Regions from separate parts of the Homo sapiens genome. Here all the other regions are linked to region 3. The links are contacts of gene promoters, found by promoter capture Hi-C in human tissues and cell types (Jung and others, 2019). All regions are on one chromosome and are shown on one strand. Each heading gives the region's core, a stretch centred on a gene start or on the middle of the fragment in contact. The rest is flanking DNA. Distances are from core to core; before and after follow the strand shown. Region 1 has its middle 47 kb from the start of OCM. Region 2 has its middle 25 kb from the start of OCM. Region 3 holds the start of CYTH3 (cytohesin 3).

What was found. Contacts are between HindIII fragments. The study calls those that stand out against the background at their distance.
Region 1: a fragment that was not itself captured here is called in contact with the fragment with the promoter of CYTH3 in region 3 in 1 of the 25 tissues and cell types used here (spleen).
Region 2: a contact is called between a fragment that was not itself captured here and the fragment with the promoter of CYTH3 in region 3, in 1 of the 25 tissues and cell types used here (dorsolateral prefrontal cortex).

Annotation. Positions count from the first base shown.
Region 1 is chr7:5,832,306-5,835,005 of GRCh38, reverse strand. It overlaps the pseudogene ZNF815P. Among named protein-coding and RNA genes, the nearest start is that of OCM, 47 kb to the left of the region's middle. The HindIII fragment of the contact is 7,853 bases long and covers 1-2,700 here.
Region 2 is chr7:5,854,409-5,857,329 of GRCh38, reverse strand. It overlaps the pseudogene ZNF815P. Among named protein-coding and RNA genes, the nearest start is that of OCM, 25 kb to the left of the region's middle. The HindIII fragment of the contact is 4,199 bases long and covers 1-2,921 here.
Region 3 is chr7:6,271,324-6,274,023 of GRCh38, reverse strand. CYTH3 (cytohesin 3) reads left to right here and starts at 1,400. Exons shown (of 13, transcript NM_004227.4): 1 at 1,400-1,550. The coding sequence starts at 1,517. RefSeq lists silencers at 1,173-1,532, 1,853-2,022 and enhancers at 1,341-2,062, 2,063-2,700. The HindIII fragment of the contact is 17,528 bases long and covers 1-2,700 here.

The DNA of each region.
Region 1 (2,700 bases), core at 29-2,528, 440 kb after region 3:
CATGGTGGCACATGCCTATATTCCCAGCTACTCCGGAGGCTGAGGCAGGAGAATCACTTGAACCCGGGAGGCAGAGATTGCAGTGAACCAAGATAGTGCCACTGCACTCCAGCCTGGGCGACAGAGCAAGACTCCATCTCAAAAAAATTTTTTAATTAAAAAAATAAAACCCATTATGGCAAGCAATTTCAGACAAGATCAGGCACGTTCAGGGTGGTGTGGCGGTACACATGGCAGGCTGTTTCAAGAACACGCAGTTCATTCATTCGTTCCTCTAGATAATGCAGTGTTACATCCAGGTCACTTGGCACCACACAAGGCTGTCTCTGTAGACCTGAGTGTTCGGCATCCCCAAACAACCAGAATCACAGACGGCTGCTTTGGCATAATATCTGCTGTTTATACAGAGAGGAAGAAAAGTCACAAGAGATTTCCTGTTGTGTTTCTTTCAAGGTGGTTGTTATTGAGGAACGGGTCTGCCACATCTTACATACAAAGATCAAATACATCTTTAAATCTTGAAAGAGCTGTATTCCCCCCGAGAATTAGACACGGTTGTCCAAAACAGACAACACAAGTCATATATTAGATGGAATCTGCCTGCCTTTTTTAAGTGACAGGAATGTCAGATATAAATTTACAAGGCATCGGGCTGGGCACAGTGGCTCACGCCTGTAATCCCAGTACTTTGGGAGGCCGAGGTGGGCAGATCACTTGAAGCCAGGAGTTTGAGACCAGCCTGGCCAACGTGGTGAAACCTCATCTTTACTAAAAATACAAAAATTAGCTGTGTGTGGTAGCAGGTGCCTGTAAGCAGGTGCCTGTAAGGAGGCTGAGGCAGGAGAATTGCTTGAACCCAGGAGGCAGAGGTTGCAGTGGGCCGAGATTATGCCACTGCACTCCAGCCTAGATGATAGAGCCAGACTCTGTCTCAAAAAAGAATTTACAAGGCATCTCACAACTGCAGCAGCCTCTACAGTCTCTCCACCCTGTCCTTCCCACAGCCGTGACCTTCCATTCTCTTCCTGTTTTCACTGATCCTGACTTCTGTTTGCATTTTATCAGATTTTTTTTTTTTTTTTGAGACAGAGTCTCACTCTGTCACCCAGGCTGAAGTGCAGTGGTATGATCTCAGCTCACTGCAATCTCCACCTCCCAGGTTCAAGTGGTTCTCCTGCCTCAGCCTCCCAAGTAGCTGGGATTACAGGCACCCACCACCACACCCATCTAATTTTGTATTTTTAGTAGAGACAAGGTTTCACCACATTGGCCAGGTTGGTCTCAAACTCCTGACCTCAAGTGATCCACCCGCTTTGGCTTCCCACAGTGCTGGGATTACCAGTGTGAGCCACCACACCCAGCCTTTATTAGTCATGTTCTTATGAGCATCCAAAATCCCTGCTGAAAAAGTGCAGTAGAAAGAAATGCCACACTCACCTGGGCCATGGTTCTTCCTTGCTGTTGTGGGAAAGCAGGTATCTGTGAAGGCAGACATCAGAGTGGGGAGAGAGGATATGAGAGGCCACGCTTGCCCGTGGGCTCCCGATCAACTGCTGAGACCACCCCCACCCCCCGCCTCGCGGGCACAGGTGGGAGAAAGCCTTCTCTGAAGGATCCCCATTATCAGAGCAAAGCCCTCACCTTGGAAATGTCATAGGGACTCAATCTCATGAGGCCTGACTTGGATTTTTGTTTTGTTTTTTGAGACAGGGTTTCACTCTGTCACCCAGGCTGGAATGCAGCGATGCAATCAGAACTCAATGCAGCCCTGGACTCCCAGGCTCCAGCGATCCTCCCACCTCAGCCTCCCGAGAAGCTGGGACTATAGGTGTGTCACACGCCCAGCTAATTTTTAAATTTTTTGGTAGAGAAGGCGGTCTCACTGTATTGCACAGGCTGGTCTCAAACTCCTGGGTTCAAGCAATCTGCCCATCTCAGCCTCCCAAAACCTTGGGATTACAGGGGTGAACCACCACGACTGACTGGAGTTTTTCTTAATGAATATGTGTATCTATGTCTCAGTAACCAATGTGCAATTTACTACAATCCCCACCCATTACCCAAAAATGTAATTATTAGAAATCTATTCTGAAGAAACAGGCCAGATGCAGAGGCTCACGCCTGTAATCACCACACTTTGGGAGGCCGAGGCAGGTGCATCACCTAAGGTCAGGAGTTCAAGACCCGCTTGGCCAATATGGTGAAACCCCATCTCTACTAAAATACAAAAATCAGCCAGGTGTGGTGGCACATGCCTGTAATCCCAGCTACTCAAGAGGCTGAGGCAGGAGAATCTCTTGAACTTGGGAGGCAGAGATCACAGGGAGCCGAGATTGTGCTGTACCACTGCACTCCAGCCTGGGCAACAAAGCGAGCTTGCATCCCCCCAAAAAATGATAAGAAAACTTTTTGGGGGATGGGGTCTGGCTCTGTTGCCCAGGCTAGAGTGCAGTGGTACGGCACAATCTTGGCTTCCTGTGACTTGTCCCTGTAATCCTAGCTACTTGGGAGGCTGAGGCAGGAGAATCGCTTGAGCCTCGGAGGTGGAGGTGGCAGTGAGCTGTGATTGCGCCACTATACTCCAGCCTGGGCAACAGAGTGAGACTCCGTCTAAAAACTCAAAACATATATATATATATATGCTTTTTGTAGAGTCAGGGTCCCGCTATGTTGCTCAGGCTGGTCTCGAACTCCTGGCCT
Region 2 (2,921 bases), core at 275-2,774, 420 kb after region 3:
ATTATGAGGTTTTTCACTTTGCCTGCTGGAAACACGAACGGTTCCCAGCTTTTTGTGGACTTTGGAATTATTCTGCCTGTTTCTATTGTGTGATTCCTTCCCCTAGTCTTGCTCGGGTAATTTCCTCCATGTGTGAGGTGATCCCACTCAGCTTCAGAGTCAAGAGGTTTCCTTTGCAAAGCTGCAGAATTTGGGTTTTTTTGCATATCTCTCCCGCAGGATTCCATCCTGCAAATTCCAGCTGCTTTGGCCTGCTCAAACTTTTTTTTTTTTTTTTTTTAGAGACAGAGTCTCGCTTTCTGGCCCAGGCTGGAGGGCAGTGGCGCGATCTCGGCTCACTGCAACCTCCACCTCCCAGGTTCAAGTGATTCTCATGCTTCAGCCGCCTGACTAGCTGGGATTACAAGCATGCACCACCACGCCCAGCTAAATTTTTTGTATTTTTAGTAGAGACAGGGTTTCACCATGTTGGCCAGGCTGGTCTCGAACTCCTGACCTCAAGTGACCCACCCACCTCGGCCTCCCAAAGTGCTAGGATTATAGGCGTGAACCACCGCACCTGGCCAGGCCTGCTCACACTTTCAGCTCTGTCTCCTGCACTCAGGGAGAACACTGGGCTCTGCCCGGCTGCCCTCCTCCCGCGGCAGCTGGAAACACTTTGCCTCATTGGTTTCTCCCCTAACGGAGATCATGGTCTTTAGTGCCACCTATTGACCGGTGTCTAAAAACTGCCTTTGCGTATGTGTTGTACGGTTTTCTAGGTATTTAAGGCAAGAGGGTTAATCCATCTTGGCCATAAGTTGGGGAAGTCTCCACAATTTTTACAACATTTTGGGAGTCTGAAGGGGGAAGACTGCTTGAGACCAGGAGTTCGAACCCAGCTCGGGCAACACAGCAAGACCCCAATCTCTCCAAGAAAATAAAAATACTAAAAGTAGCCGAGCATGACAATGTGCGCCTATAGTCTCAGCTACTCGGGAGGCTGAGGTGGGAGGACTGCCTGAGCCCAGGAGATCCAGGCTGCAGTGAGCCATGTTGGCACCACTGCACTCCAGTCTGGGTGACACAGTGAGACCTTGTCTCAAGAAAAAAATAAAACATTTTAAGTTCCTGGAAGGGTGAGTTAGAGGCTATATAAAGAATTAAAGCTTTTTTAAAATCACATTCCCAAATTATTGGTCAAAAGGGAGCAGTGGGCCGGGTGTGGTGGCTCATACCTGTTATCCCAGCACTTTGGGAGGCCGAGGTGGGCGGATCACCTGAGGTCAGGACTTTGAGACCAGCCTGGCCAACACGGCAAAACCCCATCTGTACTAAAAATACAAAAATGAGCCAGGCGTGGTGGTGAGCACCTGTAATCCCAGCTACTTGGGAGGCTGAAGCAGGAGAATCACTTGAACTGGGGAGGCAGAAGTTGCAGTGAGCCGAGACAGTGCCTCTGTACTCCAGCCTGGGTGACAGAGCAAGACTCCATCTCAAAAAAAAAAAAGAATTAAAGCTTTTGGTGGCTCACACCTGTAATCCCGGTACTTTGGGAGGCTGAGGTGAGCAGATGGCTTGAGCTCAGGAGTTCAAGACCAGCCTGGGCAATGCGGTGAAACCCCATCTCTACAAAAATTATAAAAATTAGCCAGCCATGCTGGCTCACACCTGTAGTTCCAGCTACTCAGGAGGCAGAGGTGGGAGGATCGCTTGAGCCTGGGAAGTTGAGGCTGCAATGAGCCCTGATTTTGCCACTGTACTCCAGCCTATACAACAGAGCAAGACCCTTCTCAAAAACGAAAAGAAACTGCTGTTTCCTATGTTTTGTACAGTTGTAGGTATTTAAGGCAAGAAGGGTTATCCATCTTGGCCATAAGAAGGGGAGATCTCCACAATTTCTGTAAACATTTTAAGTTCATGGAAGGGGAATTGTGGGTTAGAGGCTATATAAAGTATTAGGATTTTTGATAATAAGAAAATATGGGCTAAGCATCGTGGCTGTAATCCCAGCACTTTGGGAGGCCGAGGTGGGTGCATCACTTGAGGTCAGGAGTTCGAGACCAGCCTGGCCAACATGGTGAAACCCCCATCTCTATTAAAAATGCAAAAAAAATTAGCCAGGCATGGTGGCGGGTGCCTGTAATCCCAGCTACTCAGGAGACTGACACAGGAGAATTGCTTGAACCCAGGAGGAGGAGATAACAGTGAGCCAAGATCATGCCATTGCACTCCAGCCTGGACAACAAGAGCAAAACTCCATCTCAAAAAAAGAAAAGGGCACATATGTGTGCGTGCAACAGAATACAGAATATTTATTTCCAGAGGAACCCTGACTTCTCCAGGCTCCTCGGTTTGTCCTTCTTTGTGGGCATGATTTATGCAGCTGCCTATAGATGTCACCACAGGAAGGCACGTCAGAGGTAATAAAAATCCCAGAGTGAGAACTGCGGCACCACGGCAGAGGGCCAGAGCACGAGTGCAAAGGCCCCGTGTCAAACACAGAAGAGGTTTTTGTTTTAAATCACGACATCTAATGGCTCACACCTGCAACCCTAGCATTTTGGGAGTCTGAGGTGGGAAGATGGCTTGAGCCTAGGAGTTAGAGACCAGCCGAGGCAACATAGCAAGACCCTGTCTTTACCAAAAATAAAAAAAAAAAAAAATAGTTGGGCGTGGTGGCATGCATCTGTGGTTCCAGCTCCTCGGGAGGCTGAGGCAGGAGGACCACTTGATCCCAGGAGTTTGAGGCTGCAGTGAGCTGTGATCACACCACTGCACTCCAGCCTGGGTAACAGAGTGAGATCCTGTCTCAAGTAAAACATAAAATAAAATAACATAAATAAAATTAAAATTAAAATAAATAAAATGAAATAACAAAATAAAATAACATCAGTCCACAGAACCCAAATCTTCGCCCAAGATAGAGTGACAGCCTTTAC
Region 3 (2,700 bases), core at 151-2,650:
TGGGCAATAGAGCGAGACCCTGTCTCAAAAAAAAAGTGTCCCTCGTGGGTTTGGTTGCATGAGAATGCTTGGTGTTCAATTCTTGAGGTTATTAGAAGATTGAACTTTGAAATCATCCCGCAACCTTGAACCAAAAGGTGAAATTGTCCACTTTGATAGATGACAACGGAAGGATCCTTTGGTTCAATGGACAGCTTGTAAATATAAAACAGTTGCTGGAAAATTATATTAGAGATGAGCTATCTCCTCCATTACAATGTTTGCTTTTCTTTAATGCGATTGAGTTCCAACAGAAAGGCTTGGGAGGGGCCACAAGCAATGCTTCAGGAGTTACTGGAAGAGAGATATGGGGAGTGAGAGAGGAGATCCATCGATGTGGAGCAGGGGCCAGGGGAGGCCTTCTGCCCAGGAGGCCTGTGCTGAGGACCCTGGCTGTGCCCAAGGGAAACTGAATTCAGAGCTCCTCCTGCATCATAAATCCAGGACAGCTGGCAGCTCTCCAAGGAAGACTGGCGCTAAACTCCAAGGGCATCAGCCGCCAGATTGGCCAACCCCTACAATGCCCTTTGAGAGCTGAGCCCCAGGTGTGTTGAATCGGGATTCCGTTCCAACCTCATGACCACATTCATTTACAAGCCCTGCATTTTGTTAATTTAAAAATGCACTCACCAGGAGGGAAGGAGGAGAGGCTCCATTAAATATAAGACAGCTGAAAGGCTGGAATTCTTCTGACATGCATGTCTTAGGAAGGAGAAGGCCTGACCTTGTTCTTTTTTTTTTTGAGACAGGGTCTCACTCTGTCACCCAGACTGGAGTGCAGTGGTGCAATAATAACTCACTGCAGCCTCTACCTACTGGGCTCAAGTGACGTGACCTCCCACCTCAGCCTCCCCAGTAGCTGGAACTACAGGCACATGCCACCATGCCTGGGTCGCTATGTTATCGGGGCTGGTCTCCAACTTTTGTTCTCCAGCGATCCTCCCACCTCAGCCTCTCAAAGTATTGGAATACAGGTGTGAGCCACCGAGCCTGGCCAGGCCTGACTTCTGAATGCATTCGTTTCTTGATCTTTTACCCCGAGTGCACGTGCAAGTTGCACCCCTGGCCACTGGGTTTTGCAGAGTGTGGCGTTCCAGTGTCCGGGGCCCCACGCCCGTCCGCAGGCTACTGGAATGCTGAGGGCGAGGAGGCTTCGCTCCACGCACACCGGATCGGCCTGCACTTCAGGGGCCAGGTCTACAGCCTTCCCCAGCGCAGACGCCGCCGGCCCGGCCGGTTCCCGAGGGCGGGGCTGCGCGGCCTCACGCCCCGCCCACCGCGGGCAGAGGCGGGGCATGGGTCACGTGACGGCACGCCGACCAGCGAGGCCCCGCCCGGCGGGAGGAGGCCCGGCCGCGACCCGGGCCGCGCGCTGAGGAGCCGCCCGGTCGCCTGCGCGCTCCCTCCGGCGGCGTCCCCAGCCCGCGGCCCCTCTGCTGCCGGCCCCCGGCTCGCCGGCTGCGGGAGTGGCCTCAAGATGGATGAAGACGGCGGCGGCGAGGGTGGTGGCGGTGAGTGTCGGAGGTGTGGTGGGCTCGCCGGCGGCCTGGGGTCGGGGGCCGGGGGCTGGGGGTCGAGGGCGCGGCGCTGGGCCGGGGTTCGCCGGAGGAGACGGGGTCGGGGGCAGCGGCAGCGGCGTCCGCTGGAGGCCTGAGGCACGCCGGGCCAGGGCCGAGGCTGGGTCTCCGGGGGCCGAGGGAGGGGGCGGGCCGGGGTCGCCGTTCGGCGCTGGCGAGGGTCTGGGTACCAGGCCGGGGCTGCCGCGGGCTGGGGTCGCCCCGGAGTCTCGGGCCGGGGTTTGGGTGTCGCTCCTCTGGGGCGGGGGACCTTGCGGGGCGACCTTCCCCGCATCTTGTCGCCAAGGGCGTTCATGCCCTCCGGAGCCCGGCGTTTCGGACGCCCCCTTTCAGCTCAGGTGGGCGGAAGCGGCTGAGCCGGTGGGAAACCGGGAGGGGAAAGTTTTGCACTGGAGGCTCCTCGAGTGTACAGGACGGGAGGGCAGGGGAAACGGTTGGAAAGCGTGACAGTCTGCTTGGCTTTGGGTCAGAAACGGTCGCTGGATTTGCTCGAACGGGGAGGGGGCCAGCTGGAGTTCAGTTCAGGGTAGACGTTTTAGGAAACGGCAGACGCGACAGATTGAGCAAAAAACTCCGTGGAGCCGAGGGTGGGAGACACGAGCTGCACCCAGCACAGAGGCAAGACCGGAGAGCCAGGTGTGCCCGGAGCCAGGTGTGCTCCCGAGTGGGTCGGGTCGATGCGCGTCGTGGCCCAGGTGGTCTGTGTCTGACGTTCGGTTTCCTCTTGCTGGAGGAATCGTGTTTGTTGGAAATTATTTAGTGGAATACAAATGACTGCTGGGTCATGCTGGGAATTAGATTTTAAAAACAGAGGAACGTGCCTCTGTATGGAGTGGGTGTTCGCTTTGGAAAGCAAAGGGTTAATGCCCGTGTTTTTACAGGAACAGCCGAAGTTGAGGTTCTCTAGACTTTTTTTTTTTTTCCTGAAGATCTCCTTTGAGCTGACAGAGAAATCATCAGAATCATCAGAACCCCATGTAATAAGGGAGCAGTTTAGAGAAATCTTAATTACAGGCTGCCGGTGCAGCTGCCTGTAAGAATCAGCAGTATTGAATGCTTCAGGATGAAGTGGTTCATCATCAAG